Linked DNA regions of Homo sapiens: region 1 is linked to region 2. The links are contacts of gene promoters, found by promoter capture Hi-C in human tissues and cell types (Jung and others, 2019). All regions are on one chromosome and are shown on one strand. The core of a region is centred on a gene start or on the middle of the fragment in contact, and the rest is flanking DNA. Distances in the headings are between cores, read along the strand shown. Region 1 overlaps CECR2 (CECR2 histone acetyl-lysine reader). Region 2 holds the start of TUBA8 (tubulin alpha 8).

The links. Contacts are between HindIII fragments. The study calls those that stand out against the background at their distance.
Region 1: a contact is called between a fragment that was not itself captured here and the fragment with the promoter of TUBA8 in region 2, in 1 of the 25 tissues and cell types used here (spleen).

The regions. Positions count from the first base shown.
Region 1 is chr22:17,385,361-17,389,258 of GRCh38, forward strand. The region is part of intron 1 of CECR2 (CECR2 histone acetyl-lysine reader); the gene reads left to right. Among named protein-coding and RNA genes, the nearest start is that of CECR2, 18 kb to the left of the region's middle. The HindIII fragment of the contact is 3,728 bases long and covers 1-3,259 here.
Region 2 is chr22:18,108,980-18,113,017 of GRCh38, forward strand. TUBA8 (tubulin alpha 8) reads left to right here and starts at 1,830. Exons shown (of 5, transcript NM_018943.3): 1 at 1,830-1,889. The coding sequence starts at 1,887. RefSeq lists an enhancer at 1,327-1,526 and a silencer at 1,607-1,996. The HindIII fragment of the contact is 17,974 bases long and covers 1-4,038 here.

The DNA.
Region 1 (3,898 bases), core at 146-2,645, 720 kb before region 2:
GACATGGTGCTCTTCCTTACACTTGAACACTTAAAGGCCATTGTAGGATTATTAATTGGCCTGGTTTAAATGTGCTTCTGGGAATAGGGAAGCCCAAGGAGAGGGAGACAGGGAACTGGCCAGTCTGTGGAGCAGACAGAACACACGCATTTATCAATTGAGTTTGCTGTTTTATGTGGGCACAATCCTTGGTGCCCCAAAACATTTACAGTTGTAATATCCAAGATCACTAGTCACAGATCAACATAACAGATTTAATAATAATCATGAAAATGTTTGAAATATTGTGAGAATTACCAAAATGCAACACAGAGACATGAAGTGAGCACATACTGTTGGAAAAATGGCCCTGATAGACTTGCTACTCGCAGGGTCGGCACGAAATCTTCAGTTTGTAAGAAATGCAATATCTGCACGTTCAGTAAAGGGAAACACAGTACAACGAGGTGGGCCTGTATTAGAGCGGAAGGGGCATGAACCGCTGATGGTAGTGGTAACAGGAAAGGACATTTCTCACTGGTGCTATTGAAGAAAGAGTAGGTGGGACTGGATGACCCCCAGGGTGGGAGCATGTGATGAAGGTTGCGTCGCTTAGGATATTTTTGGCTGCGAATGATGGAATAACAGTGCCTTCAGCACTGCGGATTACCCTACATCATGTAAGCCGGAGGAATGGGGCTCCTGGCAGGCCAGGCAGCCCCATGGTAGGTGTCATTGAGCCCTCATACGGTGGTACCACTCATGGTCACAGGACAGACTCCGCAGCGACAAGGTCTGCATTGCTGAATGATGCAGAGAAGTATTAGGAAAATGACAACGGAAAAGAGCCTTTGAGTTGGTGATTTGAAGGGGTCAAAGATGACTTCGGAGAAGGGATTTGAGTTACTCTGACCGGAGAGGGAGAGGCTGAGACTTAAAAAAACTTCATTCTGCTGGAAGGAGAGAGGATAAGACCTGTCAAACAGAGAAGCTTAAGAGCATGGTGAGAAAGGAAGGGCGTTTTAAAAAAAAACTTTTTTCACAAAGAATATATAGCGATTGTAACAAGAAGAAGTTAAATTAATCTCAGTTCCTTCATTTGGTGTTGTATTGAAGAGGTCAGTTGTAGGGCCCCCTTTCTCAGCCTGTTTCCAAACTCTGCGCCATGTTTTATACCAGTAATCAATCCCCTTCTTTGTGCCACCGCTCTCTAATTGTTGGGATGTGGTTATGTCACCCTAGGACTGTCAGTTGCTCAGTATTTTAGCTTTCTGTTGAGTAAAATGGAAATGAAAATCCAGCCACAGAAATGTGCCTTTTTTTTTTTTTTTGAGACGGAGTTTCACTCTTGTCCAGGCTCGAGTGCAATGGCGGGATCTCAGCTCACTGCAACCTCCACCTCCTGGGTTCAAGCCATTGCCCTGTCTCAGCCTCCCAAGTAGCTGGGATTACAGGCGCATGCCACCACGCCCAGCTAATTTTTGTAATTGTAGTAGAGACAGGGTTTCATCATATTGGTCAGGCTGGTCTCGAACTCCTGAACTCAGGTGATCCACCCGCCTCAGCCTCCTACAGTGCTGGGATTACAGGTGTGAGCCACTGTACCTGGTCAGAGATGTGCCTTTCTTTCATTAGAATTTTAGATTTATTCTTGTTTGACTGTTGATTGTTTGGAATACTTCAGTTTTTAGTTTCTCTCTGTTACATGTTTAATGTTTTGTAGGACTACTAAATGTTACTTTGTGATCCTTTTGTAATGATAATTTGTATACAAATAAGCTATTCAGGTATTTATGTTCTGTGTTATGTTTAATAACAGGTTCCCCATGCCAGAGGGAGTTACAGCTCAACAGAAAGCCTTCTTTTGTCTCATTTCTCCACTGGTTCTACAGAAATTTTCAGAGGTTATCTGGCAGCTGTACCTGCCCCTCCTTGCCCTTGTCAAGCAAATCTATATCTTGGCCAGTAATCTATAACACATCTCGCAAGAAAAGATGAACTGGGCCAATGAAATTTCCATTCTTGGGAGCGTAACCTAGGAAATACAAGGATTATCGAGTTAGCGTGGAAAAGAAGCTGAAAGGTCATGGTGAGCAGCCACGACACAGCCAGAATCTTACAGATGAGGAAGCAAGCCTGGGAGAGACCCAGCCATAGAGGAATTAACGAGAAGGCCCCGGCTCCAGCCTGCTGGCGTGTGTCCAGCAGGAGCCACCACACCTGAGGGAGTCTTCCATGCCCTGCCCCTCAAAGAGCCTAACACTTCCTCACTTTTGTCTGTGTGCACATAACATGTTAAGTATCTTGTAAACACAAGATCGTACTTTTCTATATGCTTCTGAATCCTGTTCTATTCTGTTGACAGTGTTATATAACAGAATGCCCTTTCAATCACAGCACGCCATGATTTCCAGTAGCTGCAGAATACTCATCGGGTAGAGGGACTCTCATTTAGCCAAGGGGCGTTTGGGTTATCTGTAGTTGTTTACTATCATGACAACCAAGAACCAGAACAATTTTTTTTTCTAAGATAGGATTAGTGTTTTTAATCATTAGACTTCTGTTAGTATTACATTCTATATTTGAGGTTTTAAGTTTTGAGTTTTTTTTTTGTTTGTTTTTTGTTTTGTCCCGAGAGGGAGTCTGTCTCTGTCGCCCAGGCTGGAGTGCAGTGGTGCCATCTGGGCTCGCTGTAACCTCTGCCTCCCAGGTTCAAGTAATTCTCCTGCTTCAGCCTCCCAAGTAGCTGGAACTACAGGCACGCTCCACCATGCCTGGCTGATGTTTATATTTTTAGTAGAGACGGGTTTCACCAAGTTGGCCAGGCTGGTCTCAAACTCCTGACCTCAGGTGATCCGCCCGCCTCAGCCTCCCAACGTGCTGGGATTACAGGCATGAGCCACCGCGCCTGGCCAAGTTTTCTTCATAGTTACTTTTTGTTTTATATTTTATCATAAAAGTTACATGAATTTTGGTGCCATGCACTGTCTCAAGTGTTTCTCATGCCCGAACTGACCCATCTGTTTAATTCCCCCATGAGGCAGGCATCACCATGACAGCACTGTAGGAAACAGGCTCAGAGTGAAGCGATTTACCCAAGGCCGCATGCCCAGCGGGTGGCAGAACCCATACCGGCAGACTTCAGGAAAATGCGGAGGCATTTTTTGGTAAATGAATTGAACAGTACTGCTAGTGAGACAGGAAAACTGACATCCAGTGCGGGTTCTTGAGAGTATATGGGAAGGTGGGTGAGATTAAATTTTAGCTAGTGTCGTGGTATTAGAAAGGAATCTTTTACGCAATTTACGGAGAACACTGAGTCAGGAGACATTTTAGAAGTGAAAGCAATTCAGTTTTTTCTTCACTTGCTTAAATTACTTACAAAATATGTTAATAACTGTTAAGAGCTCCTTTTATCATTTTTCCACTCTACTGTAACTCTGGGTTGGGTTTTTTAAAAACTTTGTTTATTTTATTTTAGTATTTTTTTTTGAGGTGGAGTCTCACTCTGTCGCCCAGGCTGGAGTGCAGTGGCACGATCTCAGCTCACTGCAGCCTCAGCCTCCGGGTTCAAGCAGTTCTCCTGCTTCAGCCTCTCGAGTAGCTGGAACTACAGGCACACTCCACCATGCCCGGATAACTTTTGTATTTTTAGTAGAGACGGGGTTTCACCATGTTGGCCAGGCTGGTCTCGAACTCCCTGAATTCAAGTGATCCACCCTCCTTGGCCTCCCAAAGTGCTGGGATTACAGGTGTGAGCCACTGCGCCCGGCCTTAAAAACTTTATTTTTAAGTAATGTCAGACTTAACGGAAACTTAGAAGGCTGGTACACAGAATTCCTAAGCTCCCTACCCAGATTCCCCACGTGTTCAGTTTTACACCATGTGCTTTACTGCCATCTCCCTCTTTCTCCCCACC
Region 2 (4,038 bases), core at 580-3,079:
AAAAAAAAAAAAAAAGAAAAAGAAAGTGATAAATACTATGGGGCTGGGCGCGATGGCTCACGCCTGTAATCCCAGCACTTTGGGAGGCCAAGATGGGTGGATCACAAGGTCAGGAGATTGAGACCATCCTGGGTAACACGGTGAAACCCCGTCTCTACTAAAAATACAAAAAATTAGCCGAGCGTGGTGGCACGCGCCTGTAGTCCCAGCTACTCGGGAGGCTGAGGCAGGAGAATCACTTGAACCCGGGAGGCGGAGGTTGCAGTGAGCCTAGATCACACCACCGCACTCCAGCCTGGGCGACAGAGCAAGACTCCATCAAAAAAAATAAAAAATAAAAGAAATGCTATGGAAGAAGTAATAGAATATGCTATGGGAGAGTTTGGAAGAGAAATACACATAGAGTTATACTAATAACCAAAATCCTTTATTGACCATTTATCATGTGCTTGGCACAATTAGCTTAATCCTGAGTCTTAATTGTCAGGATCTTACATTATAAGATAGACAAAAATTCAACGCATGCTTTACTAAGTACCGTTTGTATCAGTGGGTAAAGCACTGTGTTTGGTACTCTCTCAAATGCAAAGATGATTACGACACATGTACTATCGTTTATGAATGGGTGGCCAACAGAACAGATTGCCGCATAGGTAAGCAGAAATCTGCTCTCATTCTCTATTGGCCACAAGCAGGCATGTCTTAGGAGCAGAAGGGTAGGAAGATCTCTAACTGTGCTTGGAAACTTGGGGAGTTACCACGTCTGGCTAAAGTGGTATTGTCTTAAGGAAAACCTATGAATTTGCCTGCGTTGGCTTGGTGCTGAGGAAAGTGGAAGAGAGAGGCTGGGGTACACCTTTCAACATGAATGGAACTGACCACTGGAGGGAAAGAACAAGAAACAGCAGTGAGAACAAGGAACAAAGACCATCCAGCCCCTCACCCACCTGGGGGGAAGTGAGGGGAGATGGGCAGGGTGACAACGTGGCCAACATCTAAAGTGTGAAGAGGGGCTTTTACCAAGTGCCCACCCCTTCCCGAGCAGGGGGCAACCAACAGCATCTGGCGGGTCTTACTACTGGGCAGAGGCAGGGGAACCCTGGTATGAGTTCTGGATTACATAGGAGATGTGACTTGGACACGTTTGGGGCTTAAAAGTAGGAAGGGATCAAGGGGGGAGATTTGAAAATCCCGGTGGAGGTGCGAGGTATCCGGGGAGAGGGTAAAAACGGGAACAGTCTTCAGCACCTGCCTGTACCAGGAGCTCTGTGTATGCCATCTCATTTCCGTCTCCAGCAACCAGGCGGGCCTTGGCGGCAGGAGGCACAGGCTTTGGGAGCAGAGGCCCTGCAGCTTGCCAAGCACACACGGCCCTAGGGCGCCCAGCTGAGACGGCACCTTGGCACCCGGGCCCGCTGCAGCCCGCTCCGGTCAGCTGCACCCCAGTCAGGAGCCTTTCCAGCGGGTCGGAGGAGAACGGAAGTTTGGGGAGACCCGCGCGATTCGCCTGGCTGCATTTTACATTTCTTTCTCCGGCAGCTGGGGTCACGAAGGCTGCTCTCGCCGGCGGTGTTGGAACGTGGACACGTGCGCTTTGGTAATAGGGCAGCCTCCCCCGCGGGCGCAGTCCCCGCTGCGAGCGCCCCCGGCTGCTGAGGCGGGACCGAGGACCCGGAGATTTGAGCCGCGGGTGGGCGGGGAGGGGCCTTTGTGACCTGCCCGCCCCTCCCCGGCACTGTGATGCCGGGGGGCAGCTGCGGGCCCGGCGCGCCTGTCCCCGGCGTCCCCCCCTCCCGGTGTGTCACAACGGCGGAGGCGGCTGTATCTGGAGCAGTCGGGGCGGGCAGGCCCAGCTGAGAGGTGCGCGGGCGAGGACAGCGGCAGCGATGGTGAGGCTTCCCGGGGCCAGGCGGGCTGCGGGCGCGCGGCAGGCGTAGGACCGAGAGCCGAGTCTACGCGGAGGCGCACGGACCCGTCTTCCTGGAGCCGCAGGGCTCAAGGCCTTCTGGGGGTGGCAGTTCAGGGTCGAGGAGTCCGCACCCTCGGGCGGGAACACCCGGTGCCCTTTATCGTATGGGGGAAATAGAGACCAGGGGCCAGTTGTTCCTTAAAGGGACCTAAGGGAGCTTTGCGTGCAGACGAGGGGGAGGGAGGCCCTGGGGAGCCCGACGGAGAAGGGGGCGAGATTCTGGGGTCCCCAGATGGGCAGCCTGTGGACAGAGTGGAGAGAAGGGCGAGTCCGGGGATTCTGGATGGGTGGTCTGGGCCGGGGCGACTGGGGGGCCAGATGCAGTCACGTCTCCGAACCCAGCCTAATGTGACAGGGCCCGGAATGTGACAGAGGACCTAGGGCGCCACGGTCCCCCCACGCGTGGAGGTCTTTCTCGCAAGCCTGGCCAGCGGCTTGGGTTTGCTGCACGCACAGCCCCAGCGCGGCGGGGTCCTCCGGGCGCACTCAGCAGCTCCCAAGTCTTTCCAGCGGTCAGAGTCGAAGGACTTTGGGAGTAAGAAGTCTCTGCTTCCAAAGGCCAGGGGACCTTCGACCTGTTTCCTACCCTGGCTTAGGGGGATCGCGGCTGCTCCCTTCCCTGCCCCCGCCCCTGGATCTTACTGAGGGGCGGCTGCAAACACTCAGTTCCTCTTTCTAGGGTCCCCCTCTCCGCCCCCAGTGCCCCTGGTGGTTAACATTTGCCCCCAGTCCACTTTCCCAAAGCCCAGAATCCCAGGAATCCCTCCTGGACCCCTGATCTTTCAGCAGTAGGGAGATGGGCTGGAAAGATTGGGGGCAGAGTGAGGGCAGAATAAGCCTATGTCATGGCCAAGGTCGGGTTCCCTGGGCAGGCTTGCTCCAGGTGTCAGTGATCCAGAAAGCAGGCGAGAACCCCCTCCGCCCCGCCCTGTTACGTTTGGCCCGTGCCCAGGGCCTCCTGGCTCCCCCGGAGCTCTAGCCTTCCAGCTTCAGTTTTGTCAGCACCCTCCCTCCTCCTAGCGGGCTCCCAGACACCCCTGGGAACTGAAAGAACTTGGGAATATTAGGGAGGGTGGCCACAGGAACCTATTTCTGCCTGAGGACCCTGGTATGAGGCCACACAAAGGGCCCGGAGCTGCCAGTTCAGAATTTTGACTCCTGGCTCTGCAGCTAGCTGTGTGACTTCAGGAAGGTCACTTAACCTCTCTGGATGTGTTTGTTTTACCTGCGAAATGAAGAGGGTTATAATTCAAATTTCCAAGACTCCACTTAGATTTCATTATTTTTAAACTTTTTATGGTAGGGAATTTCAAACATATGCAAACGGAGAGCAAATGGTATAATTAGCGATTATATACATCATCTAAGTTCAATAATTACCAACTTCTGACCTGTCTCACTTCATTTATTCCCTCCCTCCATAATTTTGAAGCAAATGCTAGGCTGCATACTCTAGAATTGATATTTAATATTTATAATATCTAGCAGGTAGCTAGTGTTTTAGGATTTTCCAAGTGCTTCCCTTGCATGCTTTAATTTGGATCTGAATGCCATTGTGGTACAGAGTGGAGCCCAGAGGATGTTTACAGGGGCGTGTCGAGGATCTTAACCCAGCCCTGTGCACAAGCTTGAATGTGTGATCCACAGACGTGTTTCTGACAATGCCTGGTAAATCAACAATTCAAACAGCAAAACTTTATTTTGAACGTGCTTAAGAATTTGGGTGTTTAGCTGAAAACCTATGGTTAAATATTTTGAAATGCGACCACCTTTCATTTATTTTGAAACACTCAATTTTGTCTAGTAGGTTCTATCTAGAACATTTAACTTGTGTGCGTTGCACTGTCTTGATGGCTAATATTTTTTGTTGAACATTTTACACTCACAGAAACTTTTAAAATATCATTTGGCTCATTTGTAAAAGGCTAAAATGACACATCTATAAACCTAGACCCCTAGAATCTCACCCTTACAAAAATGACTGTATTTCTTCTAAGGATTAAGTTTCAGGCTGCTGTCCTGTCCCCTTCACTTCCCTCCCTGGTGGGGGTTTGGGGGAGGTGACCTTG